Regions from separate parts of the Homo sapiens genome. Here regions 2, 3, 4, 5, 6 and 7 are each linked to region 1. The links are contacts of gene promoters, found by promoter capture Hi-C in blood cells and fetal thymus (Javierre and others, 2016). All regions are on one chromosome and are shown on one strand. Each heading gives the region's core, a stretch centred on a gene start or on the middle of the fragment in contact. The rest is flanking DNA. Distances are from core to core; before and after follow the strand shown. Region 1 holds the start of H2BC13 (H2B clustered histone 13). Region 2 holds the start of TRI-AAT9-1 (tRNA-Ile (anticodon AAT) 9-1). Region 3 has its middle 2.3 kb from the start of TRV-AAC5-1. Region 4 holds the start of TRR-ACG2-2 (tRNA-Arg (anticodon ACG) 2-2). Region 5 holds the start of TRQ-CTG5-1 (tRNA-Gln (anticodon CTG) 5-1). Region 6 has its middle 9.7 kb from the start of TRV-CAC6-1. Region 7 has its middle 16 kb from the start of TRS-GCT1-1.

What was found. The method cuts DNA at HindIII sites, captures the fragments that hold promoters and counts their contacts. A CHiCAGO score of 5 or more calls a contact.
Region 2: a fragment that was not itself captured here is called in contact with the fragment with the promoter of H2BC13 in region 1 in 1 of 17 cell types (endothelial precursors); the score reaches 5.2 in endothelial precursors.
Region 3: a fragment that was not itself captured here is called in contact with the fragment with the promoter of H2BC13 in region 1 in 2 of 17 cell types (endothelial precursors and erythroblasts); the score reaches 7.0 in endothelial precursors.
Region 4: a fragment that was not itself captured here is called in contact with the fragment with the promoter of H2BC13 in region 1 in 4 of 17 cell types (megakaryocytes, erythroblasts, endothelial precursors and 1 more); the score reaches 6.7 in megakaryocytes.
Region 5: a contact is called between a fragment that was not itself captured here and the fragment with the promoter of H2BC13 in region 1, in 1 of 17 cell types (endothelial precursors). The highest score is 5.0, in endothelial precursors.
Region 6: a fragment that was not itself captured here is called in contact with the fragment with the promoter of H2BC13 in region 1 in 15 of 17 cell types (endothelial precursors, activated CD4 T cells, erythroblasts and 12 more); the score reaches 13.4 in endothelial precursors.
Region 7: a contact is called between a fragment that was not itself captured here and the fragment with the promoter of H2BC13 in region 1, in 5 of 17 cell types (activated CD4 T cells, total CD8 T cells, non-activated CD4 T cells and 2 more). The highest score is 7.0, in activated CD4 T cells.

Annotation. Positions count from the first base shown.
Region 1 is chr6:27,806,317-27,809,231 of GRCh38, reverse strand. H2BC13 (H2B clustered histone 13) reads left to right here and starts at 1,303. Exons shown (of 1, transcript NM_003519.4): 1 at 1,303-1,753. The coding sequence starts at 1,326. The coding sequence ends at 1,706. H2AC13 (H2A clustered histone 13) reads right to left here and starts at 1,059. Exons shown (of 1, transcript NM_003509.3): 1 at 565-1,059. The coding sequence starts at 1,022. The coding sequence ends at 630. It also overlaps the pseudogene H4C10P. RefSeq lists enhancers at 199-797, 716-915, 1,256-1,485, 1,736-1,835, 1,398-1,997 and 1 more. The HindIII fragment of the contact is 5,899 bases long and covers 737-2,915 here.
Region 2 is chr6:27,273,117-27,275,974 of GRCh38, reverse strand. It overlaps TRI-AAT9-1 (tRNA-Ile (anticodon AAT) 9-1), which reads right to left and starts at 2,015; the gene lies at 1,942-2,015. It overlaps TRI-AAT3-1 (tRNA-Ile (anticodon AAT) 3-1), which reads left to right and starts at 691; the gene lies at 691-764. The HindIII fragment of the contact is 428 bases long and covers 1,140-1,567 here.
Region 3 is chr6:27,231,649-27,234,828 of GRCh38, reverse strand. No RefSeq gene overlaps it. Among named protein-coding and RNA genes, the nearest start is that of TRV-AAC5-1, 2.3 kb to the left of the region's middle. The HindIII fragment of the contact is 2,580 bases long and covers 24-2,603 here.
Region 4 is chr6:27,212,224-27,215,381 of GRCh38, reverse strand. It overlaps TRR-ACG2-2 (tRNA-Arg (anticodon ACG) 2-2), which reads left to right and starts at 1,466; the gene lies at 1,466-1,538. TRR-ACG2-3 (tRNA-Arg (anticodon ACG) 2-3) reads right to left here and starts at 209; the gene lies at 137-209. RefSeq lists an enhancer at 1-239. The HindIII fragment of the contact is 1,616 bases long and covers 609-2,224 here.
Region 5 is chr6:27,293,771-27,297,000 of GRCh38, reverse strand. TRQ-CTG5-1 (tRNA-Gln (anticodon CTG) 5-1) reads right to left here and starts at 1,568; the gene lies at 1,497-1,568. It also overlaps the pseudogene TRS-ACT1-1. The HindIII fragment of the contact is 2,197 bases long and covers 517-2,713 here.
Region 6 is chr6:27,194,877-27,198,107 of GRCh38, reverse strand. No RefSeq gene overlaps it. Among named protein-coding and RNA genes, the nearest start is that of TRV-CAC6-1, 9.7 kb to the left of the region's middle. The HindIII fragment of the contact is 877 bases long and covers 931-1,807 here.
Region 7 is chr6:27,112,152-27,115,176 of GRCh38, reverse strand. No RefSeq gene overlaps it. Among named protein-coding and RNA genes, the nearest start is that of TRS-GCT1-1, 16 kb to the right of the region's middle. The HindIII fragment of the contact is 1,876 bases long and covers 825-2,700 here.

The DNA.
Region 1 (2,915 bases), core at 54-2,553:
TGTGGCTGGGGGTGGGAAAGCTCGGGAAATTTTAATTTCAATGAATTTTCAGAAAATGCTTCAAAGAGAACTACCTGGCACCATAAGTAACTGTTCTAATTAGTCTAATAATTATTCTCAACTCAATCATTAATGTTCAAATGCAATTAATTATACAGATTCGAGAGATATTTCTCAGAAATGAAGAATCCAAGTCGTTGATCTAGATTTGGATTGAACGTCGAATGCCCGGTTTGTTATTTACCAAGACCCAGAAAACATCTGGCCCCAAAGCAGACATGTTTGCTTCAACAGACTAAAAGTAAAACCCGACGGTGAACCATACAGAATTCAACATACTTGGATAATGCCAGCTTAGGAAAAACTAAATTTTCTTCCACTAAGCTTAAGATGAAGGCGTGTTTAATACTTTTAATGTTATCCAGGCTTTTTATAAAGCTAACGAGATTGTCACTACCTAACCAAGACACCGAAGACTGATCTACGTAACCTTTGGAGTGGTTTAGAAGTAGGCAAAGACGAGAAATTACATTAAACATAGTGCTCAGTTCTTCCACAAAATTGTAGGTGGCTCTGAAAAGAGCCTTTGGTTCCTTTGGGATTGAGTTGCTGCAAACTAATCCAGGCTTCTACTTGCCCTTCGCCTTGTGGTGGCTCTCGGTCTTCTTGGGCAGTAGCACGGCCTGGATGTTGGGCAGGACGCCACCCTGTGCGATGGTGACTTTGCCCAGAAGCTTGTTGAGCTCCTCATCGTTGCGGATGGCCAGCTGGAGGTGACGCGGGATGATGCGAGTCTTCTTGTTGTCGCGGGCCGCGTTGCCAGCCAGCTCCAGGATCTCGGCGGTCAGGTACTCCAGCACCGCCGCCAGGTACACCGGCGCTCCAGCACCGACCCGCTCCGCATAGTTGCCTTTGCGGAGCAGGCGATGCACTCGGCCTACGGGAAACTGAAGCCCGGCCCGAGAAGAGCGGGTCTTGGCCTTGGCGCGAGCTTTGCCTCCCTGCTTGCCACGCCCAGACATGGCAAAAGGCCTATTATCTATACGGTCAAGAAAGACTGAAGTGAAACTAGAAAAACGTACATTTTATAGCCTCTACTGGGCGCGAAAAGGAAGCTGTGCGATTGGCTTACGTTTTATTTTTATTTAGACCAATAGGACTCGATTATGCAGGATACCTATTTTGATTGGGCAAAACTGGCATCTGTCGTCATCCACGGATAATTACCAATCAGCAGAGACCTTCCCACTACCTCGGCCGCATAAACTATTATATAAAAAGAGGAGACCGACTTCTTGTTTTGGTTTTGCCACTATTGTTTCATTATGCCCGAGCTGGCCAAGTCTGCTCCCGCCCCGAAGAAGGGCTCCAAGAAGGCGGTGACCAAGGCCCAGAAGAAGGATGGCAAGAAGCGCAAGCGCAGCCGCAAGGAGAGCTACTCCGTGTACGTGTACAAGGTGCTGAAGCAGGTCCACCCCGACACCGGCATCTCTTCTAAGGCCATGGGAATCATGAACTCCTTCGTCAACGACATCTTCGAGCGCATCGCAAGCGAGGCTTCCCGCCTGGCGCACTACAACAAGCGCTCGACCATCACCTCCAGGGAGATCCAGACCGCCGTGCGCCTGCTGCTTCCGGGGGAGCTGGCCAAGCACGCGGTGTCGGAGGGCACCAAGGCCGTCACCAAGTACACCAGCTCCAAGTAAATTCTCAAGCTCTTGTCCAACCCAAAGGCTCTTTTCAGAGCCACTCACTATTATCTAAAGAAGAGCTGGTTCGCTCTTCCTATCACTGGGGGGCGAGGGGTCATAAATCATTTTGATCTATCCACTAAATTAATCTAGCTCTTTGAAAGCCATTTAAGGTGAAATGTACATGAGGTACGTGCATATAGCTACCAACACCATAGAGGGTCCGACCTTTGCGCTTGAGGGCATAAACTAAGTCCTTAGCAGGGACTGCTTTGCGCTTTGCTCGTTCCGTGTAAGTCAGTCAAGCGCATCCGGGATCACGTTATCCGGAAATTCCTTGAGCATCCACGGGTTTCTAAAAAGATGAGACCAGAATGCGTTTGACACCGCCAGGCCAGGCTCCAGGTGGTGGGTCTGGTGATGTCTGGATGTTGCACAGCAACTTGCGGTGGCGCCCCCTTTACCCAATCCTTTCCCTCACTTGCGCAACCAGACATGATTTTAAGGCACGACAAAAGACCCGAGGTAAAAACCAAAAACAGCACTAGGAAAACAAGGCTGGCGTTTTTAATCTTTCCGACTAAACTGGAAACTAGAGGGGTGGGCGCGGTGGCTCATGCCTGTAATCCCAGCACTTTGGGAGGTGGAGGCGGGCGGATCCCTTGAGCCCAGGAGTTCGCAACCAGCCTGGGCAACATAGCAAAACCCCGTCTCTGCAAAAAGCACAAAAATTAGCCAGGAGTGGTGGCGCGCCCCTGTTGTCCCAGCTACTTAGGGGGCTGATGTAGGAGGATGGCTTGAGCCTGGTAGGCGGAGTTTACAGTGAGCTGAGATCGCACCACTGCACTCCAGCCTGGGTGATAAAGCCAGGCCTTGTCTCAAAAAAAAAAGTGGGAGATCAGTAAAAGTTAACACCTTGCCTTCTCCTAATTGTCAATGCCTGCTAGCAAAAGATGCCAGAGTAGATTTTTAAAAGTTTTTCTTGTTTTCACCCAAACCCAACTGTTTTTCGTATACTATTTACCATCCAATTTACTAACATTTATTAAGCATCTACTATTCACCATAGGCCAGTCATAGTATTCTGCTATAGGAATGGAAAATCCTGAATAAGCCTCCCAGACCTTAATTCTCAATCATTGCTGGTGGCCCCACAAATTGGTAGTGCTTTCATAAAGGAAAATTTGGTAATACCTGTCAAAATTTTAAAATGCACCTATCTTT
Region 2 (2,858 bases), core at 104-2,603, 530 kb after region 1:
AAAAACAATTGTAATATTTTTAGGAGACAATGGCTGGGTAGAAAGATCGGTTTAACCGTCCCTGAAGGGTGAGTAGAGCCACATTTCTAGAATTCTCCAATACCAAGGTCTTCAAAGTGGGCTTTGATTTGAGGTCACTCTGGAAATCTGAGGCAACAGGTAGGGAAACTTCCAAATGGAGGCTCCGGGCATGAGAAACCTGCCTGGGACGATCTCGACGGTGGGACCATCGAAAACAGACTCGTCGGGAATATCCTTCAGGTGCCAATTTCTGGGTTGTGTTAGTGAACGGCTCTTACAAAACAAGGACTCGCTAATATTTCACCGAGTCTGATTCATTGTCTGCACGTACTGATTACCAGACATTTAGAAAGCAACAAATGTTTCCATGGATTCCTGGACTATTCGCCGCAGTTTGAAATTTTTAAGCGTCCTCTTTCAACTCTAGGAACACGGCTTAAAAAATAAAATAATAAAAATAAATAAATAAAAAATGTTATTTCCTTGTTTTGTTTTTGTTTTAAGAGAAAGTTTCTCATTCTTTTTATTAAGAATCTAAAGCAACTAAGAAATTGTTTCTTCTTGTGAGACAAACAAGAATTATATTGCTGAATTTAATGCTTTCCCAAAAAAGGATGAGTGTCGAGATTAAGGGCGGGGGGTGGGGGGGGAAGAGCTGCACCCAGCGTCGGCTGGTTAGCTCAGTTGGTTAGAGCGTGGTGCTAATAACGCCAAGGTCGCGGGTTCGATCCCCGTACTGGCCACGTATTTTCCCCAGTAGTTTTTTATGGCAGTTCTGCAGAAACTCGTCGGTTTTCAGCCAGCGAAGGGCTACGGATAATTAACGATGCAAATCGTCGGTTTTCAGCCAGTGAAGAGCTGAGGGTAATAAACAATGCTCTCAGATGGTCCAAATTCGCTGCCATCATTTCTTAATCCATCTGAATTCTAACTCCATTCCCGAATCACCCAAATTTCTACATCTTCTCAGGTAAAGTTCTTATTCTTTTCCACTAGGTGTTAGGGCTGGGGACAGAAAGCTGTTCAGGGCAGAGGACCCAAGATTGGGAGCTCTGCCTAATGAAAGAAAAAAAAAATTAGAAGATTACTGGCTTTTTAAAAATTATTTAAATGAAGCTTACTTGATTTCAAATTGTCCTCCCAAATTGCTCCTGAAACCAACCTTCTTTCTCAAATTGGCAAGAGATACAAGATAGAGAGAACAAATTCTTAGGAGATTGTTATTATATGTCTCTGAAGACTTTTTTAGATTTAACTGACAGAAAAGATTGCCCTGAGAGGAAGCTATCGCTTTGAACATGGAACACAGACTTGGTGTGTTTTGTTTTGTTTTGGTTTGGTTTCTTGTTTTGTTTTTAGGAAAGGATGAGCTAGAAAGGAGTCGAATCTAGCCTCTTGTGATTAATAAACATGCACCTTGCATACTGCTTCCAACTTGAAAGGGCAATTCAATATTTCTTCTCTTTATCTTGTATCTCTTGTCAATTTGAGAAACAAGGTTGGTTTCAATAGAAATTTGGAAGGACAATTTGAAATCAAGTAAGCTTTATTTAAATAATTTTTAAGACGCCAATAATCTTCTAATTTCTCATTTTTTGTTTCCTTCGGCAGGACTCCCGATCTTGGGCCCTCTGCCCTGAACAGCTTTCTGTCCCCAGCCCTTACACCTGGAAGAAAAGAATAAGAACTTTACCTGAGGAGATGTAGAAATTTGGGTGATTCGGGGATGGAGTTAGGTTTCAGATAGATTAAGAAATGATGGCAGGGAATTTGTACCATCTGAGAGCACTGTTAATCACCCTCAGCTCTTCGCTGGCTAAAAACCGACGAGTTGCATTGTTAATTATCCTTAGCTCTTTGGTGGCTGAAAACCGACGAGTTTCTCTAGAACTACCGAGAAAAAGTACTGAGGAAAATATGTGGCCGATATGGGGATCGAACCCACGACCTTGGCGTTATTAGCACCACGCTCTAACCAACTGAACTAACCAGCCAACATTTTGGGTCTCTTCCCCCACACCACTCCCCCTCCCCATTAATCTAGACCCTCATCCTTTTTTGTGGTGAAAGCATTAAATTCAGCAATATAATTCCTGTTTGTCTCACAAGGAGAAACAATTTCTTAGTTACTTTAGACAATTCAATATCATATTACCTCTGATCATTCTGGGTAGTCTTTTCTGTCCTGTATAGGTTCCATACCTGCACATACTCATGAATATTAAGCTGAATACTTCAGAAGTTCTTTCTGGAGTTATCTCTTATTACAGCTCTCTTCTTTCTGGTATGCTATCATATTCACTCTAGCTGCCCCAGTCTCCCAGTCTATCAACTCCTCATCAACTCTGGGAGTCCACCAGGCTCTGCTTGGGTTCTGCCTTTCTGCATTGGGGCCTGGAAATTCAAGGCCTTAGTTAGGGGCTAATCCTACTGTTCACCTCCCCCTCTCTCCAATCATTCATTTTTTCCCCTGTGATTAGGGGTTACTATTCTTCCTTACCAAATACTGTATGTCTTGAAAAGTGTCATTTCATCTTTTTTGTTAGGTTTTGGTTCTTTACAGCAGGAATGTAAATCTGATCCCTGTTATTCCAACTTGACTGGAATCATCTCCCAGTTATTTGGAGGATGAAGAGCTATTTGGAGGAGCTATTTTCTGCTATGGGTTGCAGGCTTTTGGCACCAGAGAGGACCCTGTTATTATATAAGTGCAGCGGCCTGTCTTCCAGGGCTGTCCGGAGATCTTGGAGCCTCAGGGTTCTTGGGGCAAGCAGATGTTGAGCTGTGTCTCCAGGCTCCGACTGGGACAACATGTCTGAAGAGTTCAGGCTACAAGC
Region 3 (3,180 bases), core at 64-2,563, 570 kb after region 1:
ATATATGAACATGAGGATAAGCTTCCTCATCCATAATTATCTCATCCTTAGCATAGTGAAAAGCATCTAGTAGGCTAGATTTTATAAATCCTAAAGAAGCGATAGAGTTCTGCTAACTATGGTAAAAATTTTCGTCAAAAGATAGCATATTTGATCATCAACAGCTATTTGATAGGAATTAAAACATAAATTCCATGAGGAAAAGGATATTTTGTCTGTCGTGTCCACTGCTTTATTCCCAGCTACTTAATAGTCTCTGGCTTAGGACTTTTAGTAGAGAATTAATTAACATTTCTTTAGTGAATGAATGAATGAGAACAAGTAACAATCAAGAGTTCAGTTTTGGATATCTAAACTTACCTTTTTTCAGTGTATTGTAATTGATGGGTCTTTCAAACTTGTGCCAATTGAGATGCATATAAAATTGTTTAGCACTTGAAATACTCTCCTTACTTTATCTTGTAGTGAGACTATCCTTGGATTTTACTGTAGCCATTTTTTTTCTAGCATTTGTACCTGTCCTCAGCTATGACATTTTGTGTTAGTGTAGTGATTATCACTGTGTGTTATATGCAGAAGGTCATGGTTTTGCTCTGCAGGAGATCCAAAATAAACCAAGGACTGATCCCTTTATCCTGCTTTTTAAATTTCATAATAGAGAGACCAATGAATTATTTTACAATTGTTATCATCTGGTTGCCTGCTCCAGCAGACTACAGGGTTCTGGGGTCTGGCTAACATTTCCTCATTTTTTTCTGGCTTCCATAAAGGGCCCTCCACAAAGCCCAAGTGCTTACAATTGCCAAACATTCAGAATACCAAATTAACAGCTGATTTCTGAGACTAGCATGGAAGCTGTGAAAAATGTGGAAAGCTGCCAGCTTCAGCCAACAAAGAGTAGGCCAGGGATTCAGATGGCCTGAGAAGGTCTTGAGTCCAGAACCCCAGGAATAGAAAATGCCCAGGATATAAAGGCATTTGCGTCTTTCTAGGGCAGCTCATGTGGATCTGGCTTTTAGCTCTATATTTTGAAAAGTTGGAGCGGTAAGGAAGGCGGAATAGTAGTAACTGAGCCAGCATTTGTCAGAACTTAGGGAAAGTGGTCAGAAAAATAGCAAGCAGCTTGCAAATGAGGTTCTGTCCTGGATGTGATATTTGTTCTTTCAGCTTAACCTCAATAGACTGAAGTGGTGAAATGAGAGACAAGAAAATTTGACGTAAAATTTTATTTTCTAGACTCTTTGGTATTTGATCCCAATAAAATGATGGTTCCCTATCACCACAAGTGGATATCACCACACACTATTTTACCAATCCTTAGGATTCCATGGTGAGAAAAAATCATAGTAAGTCACAGATAGACCTAATTATAATGATGGCAAATTAAGCACAGCTTTTGCTTTCTCTTTATTCCAAACTACACTTATACAAAGCATTAAGGGTGTTTAAAGACATAAATACACAGGGACAAAAAGATGAGAAAATGATGAGCAGTAGCAAGTAGCAAGATTTTGAATGCCAGAGAGCAGAATGATTAGTGCTAACAGAAGGGAAAATCTTATTGTGTTAAGTATCTTTTTTTTTTTTTTTTTTTTTTTTTTTTTTGAGACGGAGTCTCGCTCTGTCGCCCAGGCTGGACTGCGGACTGCAGTGGCGCAATCTCGGCTCACTGCAAGCTCCGCTTCCCGGGTTCAACGCCATTCTCCTGCCTCAGCCTCCCCAGTAGCTGGGACTACAGGCGCCCGCCACCGCGCCCGGCTAATTTTTTGTATTTTTAGTAGAGACGGGGTTTCACCTTGTTAGCCAGGCTGGTCTCGATCTCCTGACCTCATGATCCACCCGCCTCGGCCTCCCAAAGTGCTGGGATTACAGGCGTGAGCCACCGCGCCCGGCCAAGTATCTTTTTAAAAAAAAATTTCTTTTTAAGATTGGTACATGCGGCCAGGCGCTATGGCTCAGGCCTGTAATCCCAGCACTTTGGGAGGCCAAGGCAGGCAGATCACAAGGTCAGGAGCTCGAGACCAGCCTGGCCAACATGGTGAAACTCCATCTCTACTAAAAATGCAAAAAAAATTAGCCGGGCGTGGTGGCGTGTGCCTGTAATCCCAGCTACTCGGGAGACTGAGGCAGGGGAATTCCTTGAACCAGGGAGGTGGAGGTTGCAGTGAGCCAAGATCATGGCATTGCATTCCAGCCTGGGTGAAAGAGTGAGACTCCATCTCAAGAAAAAAAAAAAAAAAAAAAAAGATTGGTACATTTACATATACTCTAGTACATCTCATAGTTGCATAATATTTAATATTATGTGTTTACCACACTTCACGTATCTACTGTTCAATGTTGGCTTCAAGGCTGAATCTGATTCTGGAAGAGGAAAAATAGTGAGGCAATTAACATCCACATATGATACAATCTATATCTTTGTGACATGAGGGGGAATATACACCTAGGAGCCGAATACCTAGGTCATTGAGTGTGTCAATCTTAACTTGAGTAAAAAGTATTAGACTGCTTTCCAAAATGGCTACATTAATATAAACTTCCACCAGCAGGATATGAGGGCTTCCATATTCCCATTTCTGCAATAATGGACACATCAAGCTTTCTAATTCTTCCAATGTAATGTAGGTTGAGTAATAACTTATTTTATCTTGCATTTTATATTGATAATATTAAATATTTAAAATGTTAATCTTTTCAGGTTCTTCTTATCATGGGTTTGATGAGGACCCTGTCCCTATTCTTTATATATTTTCTTTTCTTTCTTTTTTTCTTTTTGAGACAGAGTCCTGCTCTGTCACCGAGACTGGAGTGCAGTGGCACAATCTCGGCTCACTGCAACCTCTACCTCCTGGGTTCAAGCGATTCTGCTGCCTCAGCCTCCCGAGCAGCTGAGACTACAGGCGCCTGCCACCACGCCCTGCTAATTTTTGTATTTTTAGTGGAAACGGGGTTTCACCGTATTGGCCAGGCTGGTCTCGAACTCCTGACCTGGTGATCCGACAGCTTCGGTCTCCCGAAGTGCTAGGATTACAGGCTTGAGACACCGCGCCCAGCTTCTTTACACATTTTCTATTGAGCTTGCTGTTTGATCTTGCTGATTTTAATGGCTTCTTACTATATCATGTAGATTAAGTTATTTTCATTTGTAAATATTTCAAGTATCTTCTACTTTGGTTG
Region 4 (3,158 bases), core at 167-2,666, 590 kb after region 1:
GTACGGTGCAAGGTGAAGAGCCAGATCAGATGAATTTTCTTTCAAAGGACTTTAAGAACCGGTTTCTGTCATCAGTTTGAAAACACACAGGATATTTTTCTTAAAAAAAAAAAAAAAAAAAGCCAAGATTAACACCCGAGCCAGCCAGGAGTCGAACCTAGAATCTTCTGATCCGTAGTCAGACGCGTTATCCATTGCGCCACTGGCCCTCGGTTGCGCTTTTGACTACTGGCCACTCAGTCTGCGTCTGTCGATTATCTATCATTGATGTACCCGCTTTTTGTTTTTGTTTTTGTTTTTTAATGAGACAGAGTCCTGCTCTCTCGCCCAGTCTAGAGTGCACTGGCGCGATCTCGGCTCACTGCAACCTCCGCCTCTCGGGTTCAAGCGATTCTCCTGCCCCAGCCTCTTGAGTATCTGGGATTACAGGCGCGCGCCACCACTCCCGGCTGATTTTTGTATTTTTAGTAGAGACGGGGTTTCACCATGTCGGCCAGGCTGGTCTCCAGCTCCTGACATCAGGTGATCCGCCCGCCTCGGCCTCCCAAAGTGCTGGGATTACAAGCGTGAGCCACCGCCCCCTTGTGTCTATTGCACTTGTGAAAGCTTCATTAATTTATGCAGTCGGTGCATCTGCTCATTCATTAAATAATTTCATTTTTTAAACATACTTGTGTTGGATACTGATGCTTTGTGTGGAACAGTGATCAGAGATCCAAATACTTTAAAAATTTTGAGATAATGAAAAAGAAAATGGAATACTTTCTTGAGGTACACATCATATGTTTTCCATTTCATTCTCCAAAGAACCATAACAAAAGAAACATAACCAAAGAATCCTTACAGAGAAAATAATTTCATACTTTATGCAACAGAAAAGACATTAAGAAACATCTCCCAGGCCGGGCGCCGTGGCTTACGCCTGTAATCCCAGCACTTTGGGAGGCAGGTTGATCACTTGAGGTCAGGAGTTCGACACCAGCCTGGCCAACATGGTGAAACCCTGTCTCTATTAAAAACACAAAAAATTAGCCTGGCGTGGTGGCGCGCGCCTGTAATCCCAGCTCATCGAGAGGCTGAGGCAGGAGAATCGCTTGAGCCGGGGAGGCGGAGGTTGCAGTCAGCCGAGATCGCGCCACTCCACTCCAGCCTTGGTGACAGAAGGAGACTCCGTCTCATAAAGAAAAAAAAACGAAAAGAAAAGAAAAAAAGAAAGAAGTGGGCACATCAAGTAAACAAATGTCAACGACAGTAACTCTATTATGTACATGATGTTCCAAAGCAGAAAATTTCTTTATAAATATAAATATCTGAAGGGAGTGAAACTTATTTAAATTGACCACAAAGACAATCGCGCTTTGCTAGAATCCACAGTCTTGTTCAATGTACGCCTGGTTGTATTGCAAACCAACTATTTTCTTAGTGATCCTAATGAAGAATAGATAATCGAGAGACCCACAACGACGGGCCAGTGGCGCAATGGATAACGCGTCTGACTACGGATCAGAAGATTCTAGGTTCGACTCCTGGCTGGCTCGGAGGCTTATTTTCTTCCCCCCCCCACACACGAATTCTCGCTCTTGTCCCCCAGGCTGGAGGGCAATGGCGCGATTTCGGCTCACTGCAACCTCCGCTTCCCGAGTTCAAGCAATTCTCTTGCCTCAGCCTCCCGAGTAGCTAGTAATACAGGCGCCTGCCACCACGCTCGGATAATTTTTGTATTTTAAGTAGAGACGGGGTTTCACCATGTCGGCCAGGCTGGTCTCGAACTCCTGACCTAAGGTGATCAGAGCGCCTCGGCCTCCCAAAGTGCTTGGATTACAGACATGAGCCACCGCGCCCGGCCTTTTTTTTTTTTTTTTTTTTAATTTTTAAAGAAAAATATCATCCTGTGTGTTTTCCGTTTTTTCTTTTTTTTTGAAATGGAGTTTCGCTCTTGATGACCAGGCTGGAGTTCAATGGGGCAATCTCGGCTCACCGCAACCTTTGTCTCCCGGGGTCAAGCGATTCTCCTGACTCAGCCTCCCGAGTAGCTGGGATTACAGGCATGCGCCACCCACGCCTGTCTAATTTTGTATTTTTAGTAGAGACAGAGTTTCTCCATGTTGGTCAGGCTGGATTCGAACTCCCGATCTCAGGTGATCCGCCCACCTCAGCCTCCCAAAGTGCTGGGATTAGAAGCGTGAGCCACCGCCCCCTTGTGTCTATTGCACTTGTGAAAGCTTCATTAATTTATGCAGTCGGTTCATCTGTTCATTCATTAAATAATTTCATTTTTTAATATACTTATGTTGGATACTGATGCTTTGTGTGGAACAGTAGAGATCAAAATACTTTAAAATTTTGAGATAATGAAAAAGAAAATGGAATAAAATACATTCTTGGGGTATACATCATATGTTTTCCATCTCATTCTCCAAAGAATCATAACAAAACAACCATAACCACAAAACCATTACAGAGGAAGTAATTTCCTCTGTAATTATAAGACTCTATGCAACAGAAAAGATTTTAAGAAACATGTCTCAGGCTGGGTGCGATGGCTAACGCCTGTAATCCCAGCACTCCAGGAGGCCGAGGTGGGTGGATCACCTGAGGTCAGGAGTTCGACACCAGCCTGGCCAACATGGTGAAGCCCCGTCTCTACCAAAAACACACACAAAAATTAGCCGGGCGTGGTGGCACATGCCTGTAATCCAGCTCGGGAGGCTGACGCGGGAGAATCGCTTGACCCCGGGAGGCAGAGGTTGCAGTGAGCCTAGATCGCGCCATTGCACTCCAGCCTGGGCAACAAGAATGATACTCCGTCTCAAAAAAAAAAAAAAAGAAAAAGAAAAAGAAAAGAAAAAAGAAAGAAAGAAACATCTTCCTTCCCCAAATTAGGTAAATTGATATAATAATTCAAGAAAGGTAAACATTTTGGCTGGGCACAGTGGCTCACACCAGCACTTTGGGAGGCCTAGGCGGGAGGATCGCTTAAACCCAAGATTTAGAGAACAGCCTGGGCAACATAGCGAGACACGGCGCTGCTCCCCACCCCTCCCCCGCCCTGCCCGTCTCAAAAGAAAAAAAATGGTAAACATTTTAACAACAAAATTCATTTAGCAACCTAGAAACTTGGAGTTAATATAAATATAAAGTTAAATTATAACAGTCAT
Region 5 (3,230 bases), core at 366-2,865, 510 kb after region 1:
AAATTTTAGCAATAAATAAAAGTGATGGCGAGCAGGAGATTTGGGAGGACGTAAAATATATAACTTTACGGATATCCATATTTGTATTTGTATTCATATTTGATAAAAGTCCAAGAATTTTCCTACGAGTCTCAATAATTGTAAAAAAAAATGAAAACACTAACTTTCCATGGCCCAATATGTACGTTCCGTTTTGTTAAAAATGGAATGTTATTAGTCGGAAGTAAATGAGGAATTTGTCAGTTCCTTCATAAAATCGTGTAAAATACGCAATTGAGACACACATCTCTGTGTCTTGTTTACAGAAGACTTTGGAGACACCAGCATTTCCAGTTGTTCTGTCACGGTAAGATATTATCTAAAAGGCGAGAATGATTTGCAGGGGAAGATGGAAGTAGGGAGCATTCACATCCCATAGGGAGCTAGTGCGCGGTAGGGGAGACACATATGGGGAAATGTTTCTTTGTAGCCTCTAGGATCTCGTGGTCTCCGGCCCAGCAACCCTGTCGCTAAGCTTCTCGGCTGCACCGGGCGCTGGCTTCTCTGACATTCCTTAGCGCAAGAGCTTTTTCCTGTTCACATTCCCTGCCTTCTCTCCTCGCTCACAGCTTTCTTCTTTCGTCCCCGCCTCTCTCCAAAACCAAACCGCCCCAGCAATTTCCGGGTGACTGAACTTCTACAATCTGTCTAAGAGGGTCCGAGCTCTGAAACCCCTTCTTCAGGAGCTTGTCCATGCCCAGACGGAAATGCCAAGAAAGCCGAGTTGCTGAGCGCCCAGCAATGAGCTCAGGGAACCCTCACTAGGAAACGCTGCGGGAGGTTGGTGGCTGGGGAGATTGGCGGGGAGAGGGCGTAGAGTAAACTCTGTTATCCTGGGAAAGGGAGTCTTTTCAGCTCATTTCCCCCTCTTCTCTGTCCAAGTAAAACTTGCTTGTGCAAACTCGAAACAGCATCTATCTCTATTGACTATTGACTATCGCCAGTTGTATCTTTCCCGTCACCTGTTCTATCTGCCCAGCCCTCACAAGTTGAGCTTCTATCCCCTTGTGGTCTTGTCTGAGGACAGTTTTCTCTCGGCTTCGGCGACTGTCACCTCTCCCAGACCCATTTAGTGGGTAAGTCCTTTCCTCAGTTTCCATCCCAGCTTTTCTCTGTTCGTGACTATCACCAAATTTCCTTTCTCTCTTCTCACTAGCCTCCTATCTATTGTCTCCTCACTTGTTTGCAGATCTTTTCTGGAGACTTTGATTTGCAGTTCCAGCAGGACTCGAGCGACTGCCTCGTGCATTTCCTTTTGAGGCTTCTCTCTTTTTTCTCCAAAGAACAAATTGTGCGCAGCAAAAAGAAAGTTATTATTTGGTTGGCAGCTAAAGATACTCCGCTCAAGAGATGTGACGTGGAAATACCAGGAATAAAATTTGGTCGAGTGATTTGTATGAGCAACAGTATAGATTGTGGAGAGACGATGGGGATTTGACTGCAGAGGACTAAATCCAAGGTTCCACCGAGATTTGAACTCGGATTACCGGATTCAGAGTCCAGAGTGCTAACCATTACACCATGGAACCTGAAGCTGAACTAGCATTTCCTAAAGTCATAGGTGACCTATTTCTCCACTTTAGGTTCCTTCCCTCCGCCCCATAGTTTGGGTGATGGGTGCATTCTGCTTTTCCTCTTGGAGGATTAAGTCAAGAAGACGCTTACCTGCCACATGCCTACATTCAACACCTTTTACACCACAGTCTTAATGGAAAACGTTGACTTCCAACTGTCAGGAGTCCTCTAATCCTAAACCACTCCTTTCAAGTGCTTTAGGAGCTTGGCGCCCCGGGCCTCGGCCTCTATTTCATCAATGGTAGACAAGTGAGATTGTTAAACAAGACTGTGTGCCAGGTGCCAGGCACACAGTATGCCAGGTTACCGTGTGCCAGTTTTTGTGACAAGTGTTTTCTATTGTTACCTTACCTGTGAGGCTCACAACCACGCTGTGAGATGGGACCCATAATCTCTATTTTACAGGTGAGAAATTTGAGTCAGATACCTGAGATGCTTTACTCCTTTTCGTTATAGATCTAATTATTTTCTCAAAAATCGTTTTTACCAGGGTAACATGTAGCGTTTTTAAGGACACGTTATGGAAAGATTTTACCGAAGTCACAGGGGAGCCACTTTGCTGTTTACAGAAAGCTGAAATAAATGCACTTGAACTACTGGGTTAGAGGAAGATCCCAGCAACCCTAGGATAGCAACTCAGGGAAAGAAGGGGAAGGGTAGACAAAGGTCCCTCTGGAGTTTCCCAGGACAGTGCATAGCTCCCCTGGTCCTTCCACTGCCCTTCACCAATGAGAAATATGTGCAGGGTAAACTTCCAAACGGACACAAAGAAAACTCCCTGCTTCTCCCTCGCATATCCCTTTGTGACACACACAGGAGCCCATGTGAAAACACAAACACAGACACACACACACACACACACACACACACAGAATCGGTTTCTGTGAACAAAACAAAACAAAAAGTCTGTGTTCCTTGTTTAAAGTGATAGCTTCCTCACAGGACAATGTCGTCTGTCAGTTAAATTCGAAAGGGTTTTCAGAGACACATATCCACAACCTTCTAAGGATTTATTCTCTTTATCTTGTGTCTCTACAATTTGAGAAAGAAGGTAGGTTTCAGGACTAATTTGGAAGGAAAATCTGAAATCAAATAAGCTTTATTTTTTTAAAAAAAATGCCAGTTATTTTTCCACTCCTTGAACTCTTCCCCGCCCCCCCCCCCTTTCATTAAGCAGGCTCCCAGTCTTGGAGGTCTCTGCTCTGAACAGCTTTCTGTCCCCAACCCTTATTCCTGGAGGAAACAGAAAGAACATTTAAAAAAAGAAGAAGAAGAAGAAGAAGATTATTACCTGGGGAGATGTAGCATTTCAGATGATTCGGAAACGAACTTAGGTTCTAGGTTCGTTAAGAAATGGGGACGGTTAATTTGAATCATCTTAGAGCATGAAAACCAAATTTCTCGAGGGGGGAAAAAGCCAAAGGCCCGTACGGGGATCGAAACCTCGACCCTGGCATTAGTAGCAGCACGCTCTAACCAACTGAGCTAACCGGCCGACCGCAAATCTGTGCTTTTGTTATTCATCTCACCCGCATCCTCGCCCCTTCTCCGTGAAAGTATTAAATTCTTCAACGTAATTCCTGTTTGTCTTACAGGGAGGAACAATTTCTTAGTTG
Region 6 (3,231 bases), core at 120-2,619, 610 kb after region 1:
TTTTTTTTTTTTTTTTTTGACGGAGTGTCAATCTGTTGTCCAGGCTGGAGTGAAGTGGTGTGATCTCTGCTCACTGCAACCTCCACCTGCCTTCTGGGTTTGAGCGATTCTCCCACCTCAGCCTCTCCAGTAGCTGGAACTACAGGCGTGGCACATCACACCTGGCTAATTTTTGTATTTTTAGAAGAGAAGGGGTTTCACCATGTTGGTCAGGTTGGTCTTGAACTCCTGACCTGAAGTGATCTGTCCGTGGTGGCCTCCCAAAGTGCTGAGATTACAGTTGTGAGCCACAGCGCCCGGCCAAGAAGATCTTTCATAAGGTAAAATAAAGATACTCCCTAGGTGGAGAAGACCATCTGGATACTTAAGCAATTATTAAGAAGTCATGAGTGCTCTGGATTTTGAGGTCTGGAAGAGTGGAGGAGAGACCACGTGTGGTTTGGGGGCCATTATGACCACAGTAAAGAATAGACTGGATCAGCCGGGCGCGGTAGCTCACGCCTGTAATCCTACCACTGTGGGAGGCTGAGGCGGGCAGATTGCCTGAGTTCAGGAGTTCGAGAACAGCCTGGACAACACGGTGAAATGCCATCTCTACTAAAATACAAAGTATTAGGTAGGTGTGGCAGCATGCGCCTGTAGTCCCAGCTACTCCAGAGGCCAAGGCAGGAGAATTGCTTGAACCTGGGAGGCGGAGGTTGCAGTTAGCTGAGATCGTGCCACTGCACTCCACCCTGGGCGACAGAGCGAGACTCTCTCTCCAAAAAAAAAAAAAAAGACTAGACTGGATCATGTCACGTTCTCAGTAAACATCTGTGTAATCAATGGACACTATTAAAGGTAACTTTCTGAAATGTAAACAAATGCTTATGTGACATCCTGTCACTCTTCATGTGACCAGCAGATTCATCTAGAAGTCTAAGTAAAGCTTAGGAATGCACTTGTAGGTAGTTAGCCGTTTCACTTCTTGATGTTTTTGTGTCATCATGTTGACATTATTTGTGACTTTGCATAACTTAAATATAAGAACAATAATGGCTATCTCAATATCCATTGGATCAATGAGGTGTGATTTAAAGTTTACCTAAAACAACATGCAAAGCACCTGGCATGAAGTGGACCCTCAAACGGTTAGTTTTCTAAGTGAGAGTGGCTAGGCTGTTGCTATGTATCTTAAAGGAAATAGTTTCAAGACATGACAAAAGGCATTTTGGCACAGAAATCAGGAAATGTATTTAAAAATACACCCCACTGAATTCCATTTCTGGTTAAGTTGTAGAAAATTGCAAGAGTCTGTTTCTCTCTATTTAATAACTAAAGCAAGAGCATAAGCTACAAAATAGTAGATTTTCTGAACCCACCAGGGAATTGATACAAAGGAATCTAATCAAATTCCACCTAGAAAGAGGTCTTCATATGAGAAAAGAGGTTTCTAGCTGCCCTTGTTCCTGGCAGATGGGCAGACAAGCAGAGGAAGAGAAACCCTTGAATACTAAATGAGGGAAAAAGCCATCAAAACTCCAAAAGATTTTTAAGATTTGCCTGTGGGCCTACTTGACCCAAGCACAGAATTCCAAGTAGCCAAAAAACCACTGCCAGTTGTCTCTGCTAGAGGAGAGCATCCCAAAAGAAGGTGAATGGGCAGGCTGGAAAGTGGAGAGGAATATCCACTGAGGCATCCTCAGGTGCAAAGTCTTTTGAAGTTGGTGAGCACAGCCACAAAACTAAGAGAAATCAATCTAGCGCACTTTGTATTTCTGCTGCCAAGTACCAGGACTGGAGAGCTGAGAGAAGCCCCTCCAAAGCTTTCTAAGTGGAGAGAGATCTTTGTTGGGGACCAGCCTCAACACCACCCATAGGGTAGTTAAAGTCTTTGTGGCGACGAAGGAATGAGAAGAGACAGGTTTAAAGTGTATAAAGAGTGGGGGCCAGGGGGCCAATTGCAAAATGGAGGCTGCAAAAGGCACCAAGCTCCAGTCTCCACACTATTTATTGAGTACAATCACTTACATCTAAGAAGCAGACGTTTAGGGCGAAACGGTGAAAGGGAGGCAGTGTGTTATAGGCATAATCTATAGCAATAGCGGTTTAAATGAATCTCCTTTGTGCCCAAACATCGTATCTATAACTTATCGGAGTGTAGCTAGTGGGAGCGGGCTTAACTAGGAGCCTGCACGTCTGTCTACATTCCAATGCTTCAAAGGAGTGTCTTTCTTCTTGAACACAGTGTTTATAGATAAGAGAGCAGGTTGCACTCAGAGCATGGGAACATAATGGCGATAAGAAGGCTTTCCTCTTCAGAGGCCTCTTGTGGCTTTCCACAACTTATTGTCTCATATTTTTATGGCCAGCTTATGCAGGCACCCCACAAGCCTTTTTCCCAATATGCCCCACTTTTTTTAAAAACCACCATTGTTATTAAGGCTTGTTCGTGGTGTCTGGTCTCTCTCTAGAGGTGTCTTCTGTATTTGTAGACTAAAAGCAAACAGTATAAACAGATACACATTAAAGCAAAATTTGCAATAGTTGATCCTCTAATGGTCTTAATCCATTTAAGAGGGTTTATGTCTGAAAGTCCATCAGTAGCTTCAGTGAGAATGTCAGTCCCAGGCAGGAGAGTTAAATGAGCCTGAGATGCTTTAAAAACCTGGTCTTTTAATTTGGCCTTATCTAATGTGGGCAGAAAGCCACCCAGGTGCTGAGGCAAGAGACTGAAGGCACAACCTCTTCCAGTATAATAAAGAAAATAATTATGATAAGAAAAAGTTATTTTAGAAATAGAATACAGAGGTGATTATAATGGATATTATTAATCATTAGTTTTTAGTATTAATCTTTGTATTATTATTATTACCAAAGAAAAACCAGGCCGTACAGAGTTAGGAGCTGAAGGGACATTGTGAGAAGTGACCAGAAGACGAGAGTGTGAGCCCTCTGTCACGCCCAGATAAGGGCCGCTTGAGGGCTCCTTGGTCTAGCAGTAGTGCCAGTGCCTGGGAAGGCACCCGTTACTTAGCAGACCTTGGTCTAGCAGTAGTGTCAGTGCCTTGGAAGGCACCTGTTACTTAGCAGACTGGGAAAGGGAATCTCTCTTTCCTTGGGGGAGTTAGAGAACACTCTGCTCCACCAGCTCTTGTTGGAGGCCTGACATTAGCCAGGCCTGCCCACAGTCATCCGGAGGCTTAGCCGTCTCCCTGGGGTGCTGTGCTTCAAAGGTCACACTCCTTGTCC
Region 7 (3,025 bases), core at 513-3,012, 690 kb after region 1:
TGGGTATAAATATAGCTAGCCTGTGTGCTTTACTGTGGCTCTTTCTTCAGTTCTGGCTCCTGCTCTGACTCCTGCTCTGGACTGCTCCTGTTGCTGAACACTGCTCCTGCCCTTCCTGTCTGTTCTACTGGTGGAGCATCCACTTTGCTGTACACTGCTATTCTGGGCTGTTCTGCCTGTGGGTTAGTTGTGCTTTCTGCAGCATCCACCTTGCTGTACACAGTTGCTGTAGGCTTCTCTGCCTATGGGTTAGCCTTGCTTTGTGGAGCACCCGCTTTGCTGTACTATGCTGCTACTCTGGGATGCTCTATGGGTGAGCCTTGCTCTGTGGAGCACCTATTATGCTGCATGCTGCTACTCTGGGCTGCTCTGCCTGTGCGTTAGCTTGTGCTGTGTGGAGCGCCCACTTTGCTGCATGCTGCTACTTGGCTGCTCTGCCTGTGGGTTAGCTTGTGCTCTGTGGAGCACCCACTTTTCTGTATACTACTACTACAGGCTGTGCTGCCTGTGGGTTAGCACACAGGTCGCCCTTTGTTTATGGAGCAGTTTGCTGTACACTATTGGTCTAGGAAGTGTTTTTAAATTAACTCTGAAGCCAAAAGCCCTCCAGGGTTAAGTCCCAATTTTGGGGTTCACCTGTGTCAGCCTGGTGACCCTGAAGGAAGGAACCATCAAAATGAAGAGACCATGAAGGGAGCATCAAGATGAGCGGGTTGACCATCAAGATAAAGTTTGGAGTTGTGATACTGTAATGCTATATACTAGCCAAAGGCTCTTTTCAGAGCCATGTTTTCTTGGTGACTAACTGGTTGTACACTGAAGCTTTGGAAACCTTTGCCTGGACCCAAATTAATGGCCAATTGGCACCATGTGGTTTCTGTGATTTCCCTGTCATATTGACCTTTCTGGGTAAACCAGGAAATGAAAGTGGGGCCTCCAGCTAGTCCCATGTTCAGATTATGTCCCCATTGCCCCGTTTTTGACCATCGTCTATTAAATCTCTAATGACTGGCTACTTGATATTACCATTCAGTTCCTAAATGCATGGTTGTATGTCAGAGCCATGTTCCTTCTAGGATTGGGTTAGAGTCCCACTCTAGGGGGAATTTATTGGGTTATTGTCAGTCCCACTCTACGTGGCGTTAGAATTGAGAGTCCTGCCCTAGGGGCTTTGTTTTTTGGTCACCTTTCTAAGATTGGGGTTTAAATTTCCACTAAGGGTTCTTAATTTGGTCAGCGTTTTTTTACTTCCATACTTAAAGTGCCTTCTTTGTAACATTCCATTAGCTAGTGATGGTAGTTGCCAGCCCACTGCCCACTCATCTTTCACTTTTGTGGCACCTACTTCTTGATACCCATGTTCTTTTGGCAGGAGTCAGTGGTAATTTCCCTACTGCTCTTGAAGAAAAGGGAGGTGGAAATTTGAAAGGAAAAGTAACTGGACTCTCTGGACTTGGAAGAATTTCTGGGTTTAGTAGGTATCTCTGGTAGACATAACAACAGTGAGCGTCCTGAAACACTTCCTGCTAGGGTGCCTTTTAGGCAACTAAAGCAAATTCAAATTTGATGTCTTAAAAACTCATCTTCTATTATAACAGTGTTTAGTACAAATTAATTTCCCAAGAAATTTGGCCTAAAAATGGTTCACTCTCCCTGGAGCCTCCTTGGTGCCTTAATATGAGGAAGGGGGTCCTGCCAGTTCTCCACTACAGGATTCCATCCCAAGTTCATCAGGCACCCCTCTGCTTTAACCAACTAGCTCCAGCCTATATGCCATACTGCCTGAGGAAATAAGTCCAACCAGTCTAATCAGGAGTGATAAAGTCCTATCAGCCCTTAAAATCAAACTTACATCTATTGTGAGAGGTTGAGACGTTGCTAATGGCGGGAACAGTACTTGTGCCTTTTTCCATGTCTGATTTAGCTTCATGCAAGGGAAACATTGGCTGGTATCAGAGGATCCAGGGAAGTTTATAGTTTGATGTAACTTGGCATGACTTGCAAATAGTGTCCACCTGCTGTGCTGTAGAGGAGAAACAAGGGATTTTTGAATACTGCCTGGGCATATGCTGATGGAATGGCTGCTTGTAACCAGGATCATGCCATTTATTGTATGTGGGAGTGTACTTCCAGATTTGGACCCCCATGGGATTACCAGAGGGGTTCCTGAGATCTCAAATGTAGAAATCATAGGTAACTTGTTTAATAGAAGATATGAAAGTGTGCTTAATCCAGTTAATTATGACAAGGTTAGAGAAGTAACTGTAGGGGAGGATAAAAATCCTATTCTAGTCAGGGCTGTTTGGTTGAGGCACTCAGGAAATATTGCAGGACAGACTCCCCAGAAAGGCAAACTCTTTTATCACTCAGTCTGTCCTTGATGTTAGGAGGAAGCTATAACAGGCAGAAAGGGGAAACGCAAACTCCTATAAGCCAATTTTTAAATATGGCCTTTCCAGTTTACAACAATAGGCACAGGTCAAAACAGGCAGAGATAACCAAAAGAAATAATATCCAAAATGCAATTGTTAGTGACTACTTTAAGCACCCTCTCCCACCTCAGGGTTAGCCAGCCTGAGGAGATTTGAGATCAGCATCTCAGATGCCCAGATGAGAGCCCCGAACTTGCTGGCCCCAGGGCCAATATCACTGTGCCTTCTGTAAGCAAGAGGGCCATTGAAAAAGGGACTGTTCCAAGCTTCAAAGGGAGCCTAGGCTACCCAAACCCATAATGGCCAAGAAAACAAGACTGACCGGGCCCAAGGTCCCCCACAGCTCCCACTGGACACCTTACCATCTCCATGGAAGAGGCTTAGGTAACTTTTGAAGTGGCAAATAAAAATATTTAGTTAAAATGTGTTCTTATTGAGATAATAATTTTGTCAAATTCAGAAACTATATAAAGGTTGATTCAAATTATGGATTAGAAAAGGCTATGAAATAAGGAATCTATAAGTAGGAGAGAGATGTGAAGAAAGTTATGGATGTGGAGATGTATTTTTGGTAAGGAAGGTCATAAAGAATG